Linked DNA regions of Homo sapiens: region 1 is linked to region 2. The links are contacts of gene promoters, found by promoter capture Hi-C in human tissues and cell types (Jung and others, 2019). All regions are on one chromosome and are shown on one strand. The core of a region is centred on a gene start or on the middle of the fragment in contact, and the rest is flanking DNA. Distances in the headings are between cores, read along the strand shown. Region 1 has its middle 12 kb from the start of CARMIL3. Region 2 holds the start of TGM1 (transglutaminase 1).

Region 1 (5,347 bases), core at 379-2,878, 220 kb after region 2:
TGAACTGAGCAGTTTGAGAGAAGCCTGGGCAACATAGGGAGACCTTATCCCTATATTTAAAAAAACAACAACAATGACAACAACAACAACAACAAATCTTCCTTCTTAGGAACTATCGTCAAAATAACTTCTATTTCTTAAAACATCTTTTTTGAAAACTACCCTAAGATCTGCTGCTAACCATTTAAGGTTGGCTTCTTTCTTTTTTTAGATGGAGTCTTCCTCTGTCACCCAGGCTGGAGTTCAGTGGCATGATCCCAGCTCACTGCAGCCTTGACCTACTGGGTTCAAGCCATCCTCCTGCCTCAGCCCCCCAAGTAGCTGAGAATACAGGTGCGTGCCATCACACCTGGGCAATTTTTGTACTTTTTGTAGAGACAGGGTCTTGCCATGTTGCCCAGGCTGGTCTGGAACTCCTGAGCTAAAGCCATCCGCCTGCCTCGGCCTCTCAAAGTGTTACAGGTGTGAGCCACCAGGAAGTTGGCCTTATTTCTTTTGCAGTGTTTTCTTCCCACCTCCTATTCTTCTAAGGCTGTCTCTGACCCTATGCTCTTTTCTTTACATTTTCCCATTTGGGAGCTCCTTCATTCTCGTGATTTCAAATCTCACCCCAAAATCTATTTCCAGACCCCTCCTCTTCCTTTCACACTGAGTTCCACCCACATTTCTCCAAGTGCTTACTGTCCAGTTCTTCTTGAATAAGTTACCATTATTTCAAAGTCAATCTGGCCACACTTACCTGAATGGAAAAACTGGCTTAAATAGAGCTGTAGAAAGTTACCCTGGAGGGGCCTTTGAGATCATCTATTCCAATGTCCTTAAGGTGGAGATGATGAAACAGGTTCAGGGAATTTTCTCAAGATCATATAGTTCAGTAGTAACACACTGGGGCTAGCTAAGAACAGGAGGCCTGCTTATTCCGTGTTGGGGAAAGTGATTTGTTCAGGGCATAAAGCTAGTTAGTGGTGGAAGAACTGAGGTCAGTCTCCCACTTTGTAGCACAGAGCTAATTCGTAAGAGCCCTCTGAAAGTGAGCTGGGGTCATTAGGAAACCGGCTGCCCAGGAGAGCCATGATGGGAGAAGATACCAGCCTGAATTTAAAGCAATTCCATATTTGGTTATGATGTCATTTTCCCTGTCTCTGTCTCTCTCTTTTGACCTGGAGGCATGAAAGATTCAAGGCAGAAAGGGAAATTTAAACTGAGAAAGCCAAGAAAGGCAACATCTCACCTCCTTAATAAGTTATAAGTAGGTAGTGAGGCATGTGCTAGAGTAATGAATGGCCAAGCAGAATCTGCCAACAAGGGTTTTCAGTACAAAGCCACCCTGAAACCAGACTTTGCATTTGCCTGGAACTGGCAATTTTGATGCCTTGGGCAAGTAGCAGTACATGGGCCCTTGGTCAATTTTGTGCTCCGGATTTGGCCCACGGAGGGGTGTTATTAACAATGTACACCATCTGCTAGCTTCCCATTTTAACTAATTATTCTTGTTAACTAGGTGCTAACCTTCAACACAGTTGAAGAAATGCCTGGGCTGTCAACGTGTAAATCTAACAAAATTTAAAGTCAAGTACTCTTTTAAAACCAGTATGAATACTTTCTTGCACCCTTTAAATTTTGGTATCCTGGCACAAAGCCAAGTCACCTGCCTTGGCTCTGTGTAAGTCTCACCAATGTACTTGTTACTAGGGAGGTGCAGAATAAGTTAATAAGTGATGTGTGCTGTGCTCAGTGCACGTGTGTTTGGGCTGGGAGAAGACAGTGGATTGCTCCAGAATCACCTGGAGACATTTTCTACTCTGCTGCATACCCCATGCCCCTCTACTTCCAGGTCTGTCAGCACAGAGATGGGAGGAGGCTGGGTTTTGAATGAACAGAGACAGCAAACCATAAAAGATGAATGAGGCTGGGTGTGGTGGCTCACACCTATAATCCTAGCACTTTGGTACGGCCAGTAGGGAGGACCGCTTGAGGCCAGGAGTTCAAAACCAGCCTGGGCAATAAAGCCCCAACTCTACAACAAATTTAAAAGATGAACTGGCGTGGTGGTGCATGCCTATAATCTTAGCCACTTGGGAGGCTGACGGGGGAGGACTGCTTGAGCTCAAGAGTTGGAGGTTACAGTGAGCTATGATCATGCCACTGCACTCCAGCCTGGGCAACAGAGTGAGGCCCTGTCTCTGGGGGGAAAAGAAAAAGATGTCTTCTAAGTGTTCTAAATTGTGTGATCACTACACTAAAGTGGTTAGGAGCTGTTTGTTCTGTGTTCTGATAGTTATACATTTTTAAGAAAAAATATAATCAAGCAGATAGGCAGCTACTCTGGTTTCCACTTACAACACCAGTGAGAAGCTTCGTGGTGTGCAGATGAGGAGGCCACTGGGTAGTATCCATTCTCAGGGCAGTGGCTTTTCTCATTGCAGGGTAACATGTGACAACTGGCAGAAGACATTTCAAATTGCTGACAAGTATTCTATCATTCTCCTCTCTGACAATGGTCATACAAACTACCTGAGAGTCATTTTTGACTTCTCTATTTCCCACTTTTTGACATGGGGTTGGAAAATCTTGGTTCGTTTCCACTGAATGTCTCTTGGGCACATCTATTCCAGTCCCACCGCCACTGCTCTAAACCTGGACGACAGCAACAGCTTCCTCACTGATGCCCTGGATTTGGTGTCTCCTCTGTATATCCTTCCTACCAGAGCCAGATTAGCTTTCCTAATAACCATCTTTCTCTTGCTCAAAACCTCACATGGCTTCTTATTTGCTACAAGAGTGTGTAAACATATCCTTTTAAGAGGCTATATCCTTTTAAGGTCCTTAACGTATCCTTTTAAGAAGCTATGGCCGGGCGCAGTGGCTCACGCCTGTAATCCCAGCACTTTGGGAGGCTGAGTGGGTGGATCACCTGAGGTCAGGAGTTCAAGACCAGCCTGGCCAACATGGTGAAACCCCGTCTCTACTAAAAATACAAAAATTAGCTGGGCATGGTGGTGGGCACCTGTAATCCCAGCTACTCAGGAGGCTGAGGCAGGAGAATTGCTTGAACCTGGGAGGCAGAGGTTGCAGTAAGCCGAGATGGTGCCACTGTACTCCAGCCTAGGCGACAAGAGTGAAACTCCGTCACAAAAAAAAAAAAAAAAAAAAAAAAAAAAAAAAAAAAAAGATATGGAGGCCCATGGCCTCTATCTTTCCAATGCAGCCCCTTCCCCAGCAGTACTCCTGAGCCTGTGCTCTCCATTGTGGCCTGACAGTGCTCCTCTCTTTCCTTCAGTTCCTCCTTGGCTGTCTGCTCATTTTGCAGAGTTATCTGGAACCTCGTCACTATTCCATCTGTCCATTCCCATCCATTCCTTAAGGTTTAGCTCAAGTACCACCTCTGGGCCAGGCCTGTAGGCCATGTTAAGTGAACCTGGTGGGGGCCACAGGATGTTTTCCCAACAGGGTTTTCACATTACATTGCTACTTACATGTGATATGGTTAGTCACTAATTGACCCAGACTCCCAAACGGCTCCTTCCACCATCAGGATCAAGGCCCCAATCTTGGGCTCTGTCCACCAGCCTAGGCCAGGCAAGGTGACTTTCTAGGACTCACATTTGGCTCTTTCCAATGCACATTTGAGCATTTGCCAGACAGTTCCTTAAAAACGGAATTACCCTATACTGTCTACCATGCTACTGTCTACTATTGCTTAAGATCCTCCTCTTCTAAGATTATGCAAATTATTTCTGCCAACCTTCCAATCTGTTAGCACAACCCTGTACTTTCCATTTTTGGGTAGATTCTCCCTTCCACTCTGGAAAATAAAGTGTGTATCCTGAGCCTCAAGGGAAGAGGAGCTTGCTTTGCTGGATGGTTCATATTTCCTTCGGCAGCTGGAAGGCTGGTATCCACTACTAACTGTGACACTGACTTATATACTTTCTTTGAGACTAAAGTCCAGTACCTGGTAGTCCACAGGCAGCCAATAAAGGAAGGGAGCTTGGGAGGTCTGGGTCTTTCCTTACTGGCTGTGGGACCTTGGGAAGTTGCTCCAGCTATCTGAGCCAGCGTCTGCAGACCGAGAGAATAGTCCTTGCCTTGCTTGGGTTGTTGTCAGGTCTAGAGATAACCTGTGTAAGGCTCTGAACACAGGAAATGGCACATAGTAAGTGGTTGAAACATGGTGGGCTGCTTCCTGAAGTTCCCAGGGACTTGACTCTGTAAGCTGAAGAAGAGGGGAATGTTTATTAGCTCATGGGTGGGAACATCTATTTTGTGATTGTATTTACCCTTCTCATCTGTCCAGTTAGGTTGAAAATTACTGGAGAACCAGTACCAGCGGTTTCTTTGGGGTATGCAAGGGATGATGCAGGGTTGAAGCATTAGAATGTTTTAACATTCTCTGATTGGGATGGGATTATTCTCCAACTTTAATATATGGACATAATAGAAAGGCACACAATAAAAACGTGCTGGTGGGCTGGTTGGGTATGCAGAACACACTGTTATGTTTTAGTTAACATCACTGCGTTGGATCTCACCAATGCTGTCCAGGAAAGCAGGGAAGGAGGCTCAGGCTGGCTCCCTTTTCCACCTCCTGGCTCTGTGCCCATTTCCCTGCAGCTCACTGTGGCCACCAGCCGCTCCCAGTCCTTCATCTTCCCCACATGGCACACAGTGCCCGTCATGCTCAGCCCCTCCCCCTGCAGCGTGGCCACTGCCTGGTCCACATTCTGCTGCTTCCGGCGGCTGACTACCACGTGGGCCCCGTCTTGGGCCAGACGCTGGGCGACGGCGAAGCCGATCCTGTGAGCAGAGACAAAGACTGCTAAGGCTTGTGCAGGGGAAGAGATGGACAGCATGGGCTCTGAAGTTAGACTGCCCGGTTTTGAATTCTGGCTCTTTCTCTATATGACCTCCATGTGTCTCTACTACGTGTAAAACAGGCTTAATGGCACAGCCATTTTTGGCGTTCCTTTACTTATTTTTATTATCATCTTGGACTGCAGCCTCAGTTCCCAAGAACTGACATCACTTTCTACAGTTCCCACCATGGGTGACAGGCTTCATCCCCTCTTGGGACTGAGAGGTGAGAAATGAGCTGGGTTTGCAGCAGCAGCCACTTCCGTGATTTGAGGGTCTCACTCAGAACAGCCCTGCCTCCAGGTTTCTTTCTTACTAGTCTACATCATTCTGAAAATTCTATCCTTAATTATTTTTTGGGGTGCATGTGAAAAGATGGTCTCCGGTCAAAAATGTAAATATTGCCTTGGGAGGAAGAGTTACACATTTTGCACTTGTCAGCCATTAGCATTTTACCTACATTTGTATTTTAGTTTTGTGAAGAGTTGGCATC
Region 2 (5,540 bases), core at 158-2,657:
ACGTCCGGACAGCCAGGGCCCTGCCCCTTCCCGTATCTGCAGTGATGCACAAATCCGCAGCCCCTGCACAAAGCCCTCTGGCTGACCTGCCTGGAAGTTTATATCCACTGGTGTGTCTACTGAGGGTGTTGGAGGTGGGGCACCTGCCCCCACCCCCGGGCAGGTTCTGGTGCTTGGAGCTGGACAAGAAAAGGCAGTGTGGGTGTGGAGGGCTCCCTGCCAGTTCCTGGGGCCTCTCTGTCCCCACTCCCCACGGCACCTCCCTGCCTGATGCATCACCAAACAGCCCCTCCTGGATTCTGTTTCCTTGTGTCTTCTTGTCGGCCTGTTTTTACTGTCTTCTGCTAGGCGGCCCATGGGCAGAGCTGGGACACTAGTGGGAAGGAAGGAAAGAAGGAAGAAGGCCCTGGCTGACGGGCCTGAGGACAAGACCCAAGGAGAGCCTCCCTGAAGATGCCTAGCCTCCTCCTCTCTACCTTGGGATCGCCTTGGTGCCATCCTCAGTGTTTCCCCAGTGACGGGGTGGAGTAAGGATGCACACAGCACAGGTGCCTGAGCCGGTTGGTCTGGATTCCCAGGAAGAATTCCAGGTTGGAGAAAAGGGAATCCTCTAGTCCAACTGAGCAGAGACTCCTCTCAGTGAGAGAAAGGTACTCTGTACCCCTGGAAGGGGGACTCAGTTCCCACCCAAGCCTGAGTGGAAAGGCCTAAACATCCCCTAACCCCCGAGGCTACAGCGGGGGTGGGGGACGTGAAATGAGATTGCTCCTACTCTGATCTCCCTAATCCCAAACTTGAGGGCAGCTCACTCATGCCTGGGGCTGTAGAGCAGCTGAGAAAGAAGGGACAGACTTGGGGGTGGAGGGAGTCAGAATATCTGGTAGAGCCAGCAGGTCAGGGGTTAGCTGGTGGAGCCAGTCTGAGGGCCTGGCTGCTGATGTCACCAGTCTGCAACCTGGGATCCCAGGACCTCCCTGGGCAGGATGAGTTCCAGGACCAGGCCCCTGGGCCAATTTCATAGGGCTGAGCCTGGCTTGGGCTGCACAGAACTCGGCAGCAGGAGCCTGTGAGAGCAGAGGTAGGCAGCCTAAGCTTGGGACCAGAAGGTCGGCCAGACAGGGCTGTGGGTGGAAGGGCCTGCCTGCCCCACTGCCCTTGCAGCTTCTTCATCCGGGAGAAGGGGCTCCTCACATGCCCAGTCTGGTAGGAATCAGCCTGGTGCCAGGGGCCATCACAGCGGTGGCTCCCACCAAAGCCCAGCCTAAGCCCCCAGACCTCACCCCTGCTCCCTCCCTAGCATCTTCTCCCCATTTCCCGCCCAGAGGCCTGGCCTCTTCTCTCCGCCCCCTACAGCAGTTTGGCCCCTCCCTCCCACATAAGTCACTTACCAGGTCTGTCCCTGCGGCATCCAGTCTGTGGGTCCTGTCCCATCCATCCTGACCTGTTCCATCTCAGCCCCAGGACTCAGTACTGCGGTTGCCAACACTGCTGCCAGGTGAGGGGCTCCCACGGGTACTGTGGTGCCGAGTCCAGGCGGCCCACACTATCAGAGGCCGTGCCTGGATCCAGCAAGGTGGGGTGTGGGCCAGCTGTGTACCTGTCAGCCCCAGCTAGGCTGTTCCCAACACCAAGACTCTGCTTTCCCTGTGCACAGGCTCCGGGCACCTGCCATGCCCTACCCCTCCTGGCAGCCCCAAGTGGGGTCTTCCCTGACTTGGGAATGCCAAGGACCACAGGCCCCGGGGTCACTTGTCTGTCTTGTGAGGAACCTTGAGTTGGGGGATTTCTGCTAAGAAATGAGTTCTAGAAGCTGTCAGTGTTGTGCACCTCTAGACTGCAGAGCTAGCAGGTGGACGGACCAGGCCCAGGGATGCTGGAGCACTCTGATGTGTGTGCAGCTGGGTCTTGAGGCTGGGACAAGTGTCCATGCAGGGAACTATGTGGATTTCCTGGGATGGATCGTTGAGTGGGTTTCTTCATTGGGCAGTTTTTCGGATGTTGTTTGGTGGGGGTGAGGGGAAGGCTTTTCTCTGCAGCATGAGAAGCTTCTCTGGGTGAGTCTGAATGGTCTTCGCGGAAGGTCTCTGGATGTGTCTGGAGAATCTCTGGGCCAAGGTGGGATTGTTTCGGTCATCGGGTGGGACTGAATCAGCTGTCTGGATGGAGGGTTTCTGGGTCAACTGGCTGGGACTACCTGGGTTAAGGAGCCACCCTGCCTCTTCCTAACAGGCATGATGGATGGGCCACGTTCCGATGTGGGCCGTTGGGGTGGCAACCCCTTGCAGCCCCCTACCACGCCATCTCCAGAGCCAGAGCCAGAGCCAGACGGACGCTCTCGCAGAGGAGGAGGCCGTTCCTTCTGGGCTCGCTGCTGTGGCTGCTGTTCATGCCGAAATGCGGCAGATGACGACTGGGGACCTGAACCCTCTGACTCCAGGGGTCGAGGGTCCAGCTCTGGCACTCGAAGACCTGGCTCCCGGGGCTCAGACTCCCGCCGGCCTGTATCCCGGGGCAGCGGTGTCAATGCAGCTGGAGATGGCACCATCCGAGGTGAGGCCGGTCTGTCCTCCTCAGCTGAGAGCTAAAAGGCTTTAATGGGACCAGAGACTCAGCCTGGCATTTCTGGGGGGGATAGGAAGCTAATGATAAGGGCCTGGGCTCCTCATGGGGCTTCACTGACACGGAGCTGTGTCCTTGCAGAGGGCATGCTAGTAGTGAACGGTGTGGACTTGCTGAGCTCGCGCTCGGACCAGAACCGCCGAGAGCACCACACAGACGAGTATGAGTACGACGAGCTGATAGTGCGCCGCGGGCAGCCTTTCCATATGCTCCTCCTCCTGTCCCGGACCTATGAATCCTCTGATCGCATCACCCTTGAGTTACTCATCGGTCAGTGGGGCTTGGATTGGGACGGGTGAAGGCCCTATGTTTGGTGGGGAGAGGCTGGCATTAGGGTCAGAGAGGTCTTTAGGCTCCTCCCTGCCCCACTCCTCACCTCTGCCAGATAAGGCAGGTGCAAGTGTGTGGGTGTGCCCCTGGGGTTGTGTCTCAGAGAGGGTCTTGGTGTTGCAGTTTTTCCCAAGCCCATCCTCCTCAAGCCTCCTGGGGCATCGGTCTCAGAGTACTCCTCTTCAGGGCCTGCCTCGGTGCCTCCTTCGGCATTGCTGCTCTGTCCTTTGTGCATCTGTTCTCATTCCCCAGGATGTGGCTGGTTCTCTCTTCTATCTCTCTCTCTCCCTCTTGCCTTCCATGTCCCCCATCTCTGCCAATTCTGTCTCTCTCTGTCTCTGTCCCTCTGTCCCCATGACCCAAGGCAGGTGCCTCCCTTACCGCGTTGCTTGGTGTAGCTTGACTTCTCAGGCTGGTGATTATGCTGCTGCCTGGGGCAGGTGACTCCTTTTACCCTTTGATTAGGGCCTAACCTTGCCCACCTCATCCTTTAATTTCCCAGGAACCCCTACCACCTCCACCAGGGATGCCCTGGGCTCTGGAAGCTGCAGCCCCAGGAAGCAGGCAGGGTTGGCCTTCAGGATCAGGACTGCCCTTTCATACGGGGCAGGTGGATCTGCCCCTCCAGCCCAGGCACTGTGATAGTCAGGCAGGCAGAAGGTGACAGGAGCCCTCGTCTCTCCTCCCCACCTCAGAGTTCAGTGTCAGGGGAACAGGTTTGGGATGTTGGACTGCGGCACTGCCCTAACATGTGGGCAAGCATTGGGTGGAGACAGAGCTGCTCTAAGGGAGACTGTCAGAGAATAAGGTGATGGCCCAACGTAGGGACATACACAGTGGCTCATACACATTGTGGGTGGGGCCGGGAGAAGTCCCAGGCTCCATCCCCTCTCCTCAGGGAGGCCTTGCCAGCTAATTGCTGATTTCCTACTCTAGGAAACAACCCCGAGGTGGGCAAGGGCACGCACGTGATCATCCCAGTGGGCAAGGGGGGCAGTGGAGGCTGGAAAGCCCAGGTGGTCAAGGCCAGTGGGCAGAATCTGAACCTGCGGGTCCACACTTCCCCCAACGCCATCATCGGCAAGTTTCAGTTCACAGTCCGCACACAATCAGACGCTGGGGAGTTCCAGTTGCCCTTTGACCCCCGCAATGAGATCTACATCCTCTTCAACCCCTGGTGCCCAGGTGAGCAGCTGGGGTCTGGAGCAGAGGGTAGATGGGAGGGAAAGACAGGGAAGGGCTTCCTGCCCTCGGATGTGGCGGGGTGCCTAGGTGCCTGACCCCAGGAGAAGCCAGCCTCCCATTGGGCAGATGAGAGGACCGAGGCCTGGTGCAGAAAGGTGGCCAGCCCAGGGTCACACAGCCAGCCACACCTCTCCTGGCAAAGGCCCCTGGCTACAGCCAATCTCCTCCACCATCTGTCATGCTCCCCGTGTCCTCCCACAGCAGTCCTGTCAGGCTAGGGGCATCCCCGCATTTTCTTCTGTGGACATGAGTCCTGCAGAACTGGCCAGAAGTAGGTGAGGCCCAGGGAGAGAACTGGAGGGAACCAGTTTTGTGTGTTCTGGGGACACAGAGGACATTGTGTACGTGGACCATGAGGATTGGCGGCAGGAGTATGTTCTTAATGAGTCTGGGAGAATTTACTACGGGACCGAAGCACAGATTGGTGAGCGGACCTGGAACTACGGCCAGGTATGGTGCGGCTGGCCAGGGTCACATACACCCAGAGGAGCTGGGGTGGGTGTGGGGGCTGGGGTATTGGAGCAGGGTGCTGGCCTAGGGTTCAGGCTGTCACCTCTGCCCTCCATCCCTCCTTCCAGTTTGACCACGGGGTGCTGGATGCCTGCTTATACATCCTGGACCGGCGGGGGATGCCATATGGAGGCCGTGGAGACCCAGTCAATGTCTCCCGGGTCATCTCTGCCATGGTGAGCACCCTCACATCTCTGAGTCCTACTGTGTGTGTGCCTGCTGCCTCGCCACACCCCCACCCTCCTCCTGCCCTTTCTGGATTCCTCAAGAACCCCCAGCCCTGTCCCTGCCCTCGTAAAGGATACTTCAGGAAGGGGTCTCCCTCCTCTTCTCTCCCTTGCCTGCCCCCCACCCCGCCTTTCCTGGCTCCTGTCCCAGCTCCTGTGGAATGTAGGGCCAAACCCAAAACTTGGCACACCCAGGATTCACATTCCTGTGTCAGAGCCCGGGTGGGAGGGGGGCAGATGGCTGAGGGAAGGGCTGGGTGGAGCTCAGGCTGGTGTCTGGATCCTGAGGCATTTAGGGGTAAGGGGTGGTTGCAGGATCGGGGCCCGGCTGGTCCCCATGGACCACATGGCAGGTCCTGAGCCCCTCCTCCACCTCCGCCCTATCTCATCCTGTCCTGGGCAGGTGAACTCCCTGGATGACAATGGAGTCCTGATTGGGAACTGGTCTGGTGATTACTCCCGAGGCACCAACCCATCAGCGTGGGTGGGCAGCGTGGAGATCCTGCTTAGCTACCTACGCACGGGATATTCCGTCCCCTATGGCCAGTGCTGGGTCTTTGCTGGCGTGACCACCACAGGTAGTGGAGGGACTGGGACAGGAGTGGCCCG

Evidence for each region. Contacts are between HindIII fragments. The study calls those that stand out against the background at their distance.
Region 1: a contact is called between a fragment that was not itself captured here and the fragment with the promoter of TGM1 in region 2, in 1 of the 25 tissues and cell types used here (spleen).

Annotation. Positions count from the first base shown.
Region 1 is chr14:24,037,193-24,042,539 of GRCh38, reverse strand. It overlaps the pseudogene DHRS4L1. Among named protein-coding and RNA genes, the nearest start is that of CARMIL3, 12 kb to the left of the region's middle. The HindIII fragment of the contact is 6,357 bases long and covers 1-4,806 here.
Region 2 is chr14:24,259,044-24,264,583 of GRCh38, reverse strand. TGM1 (transglutaminase 1) reads left to right here and starts at 1,407. Exons shown (of 15, transcript NM_000359.3): 1 at 1,407-1,495; 2 at 2,230-2,550; 3 at 2,701-2,889; 4 at 3,886-4,134; 5 at 4,526-4,644; 6 at 4,773-4,880; 7 at 5,335-5,509. The coding sequence starts at 2,232. RefSeq lists enhancers at 924-932, 5,433-5,540 and promoters at 1-1,419, 1-1,468, 2,029-2,224, 479-2,232, 1-2,232. The HindIII fragment of the contact is 4,546 bases long and covers 1-1,569 here.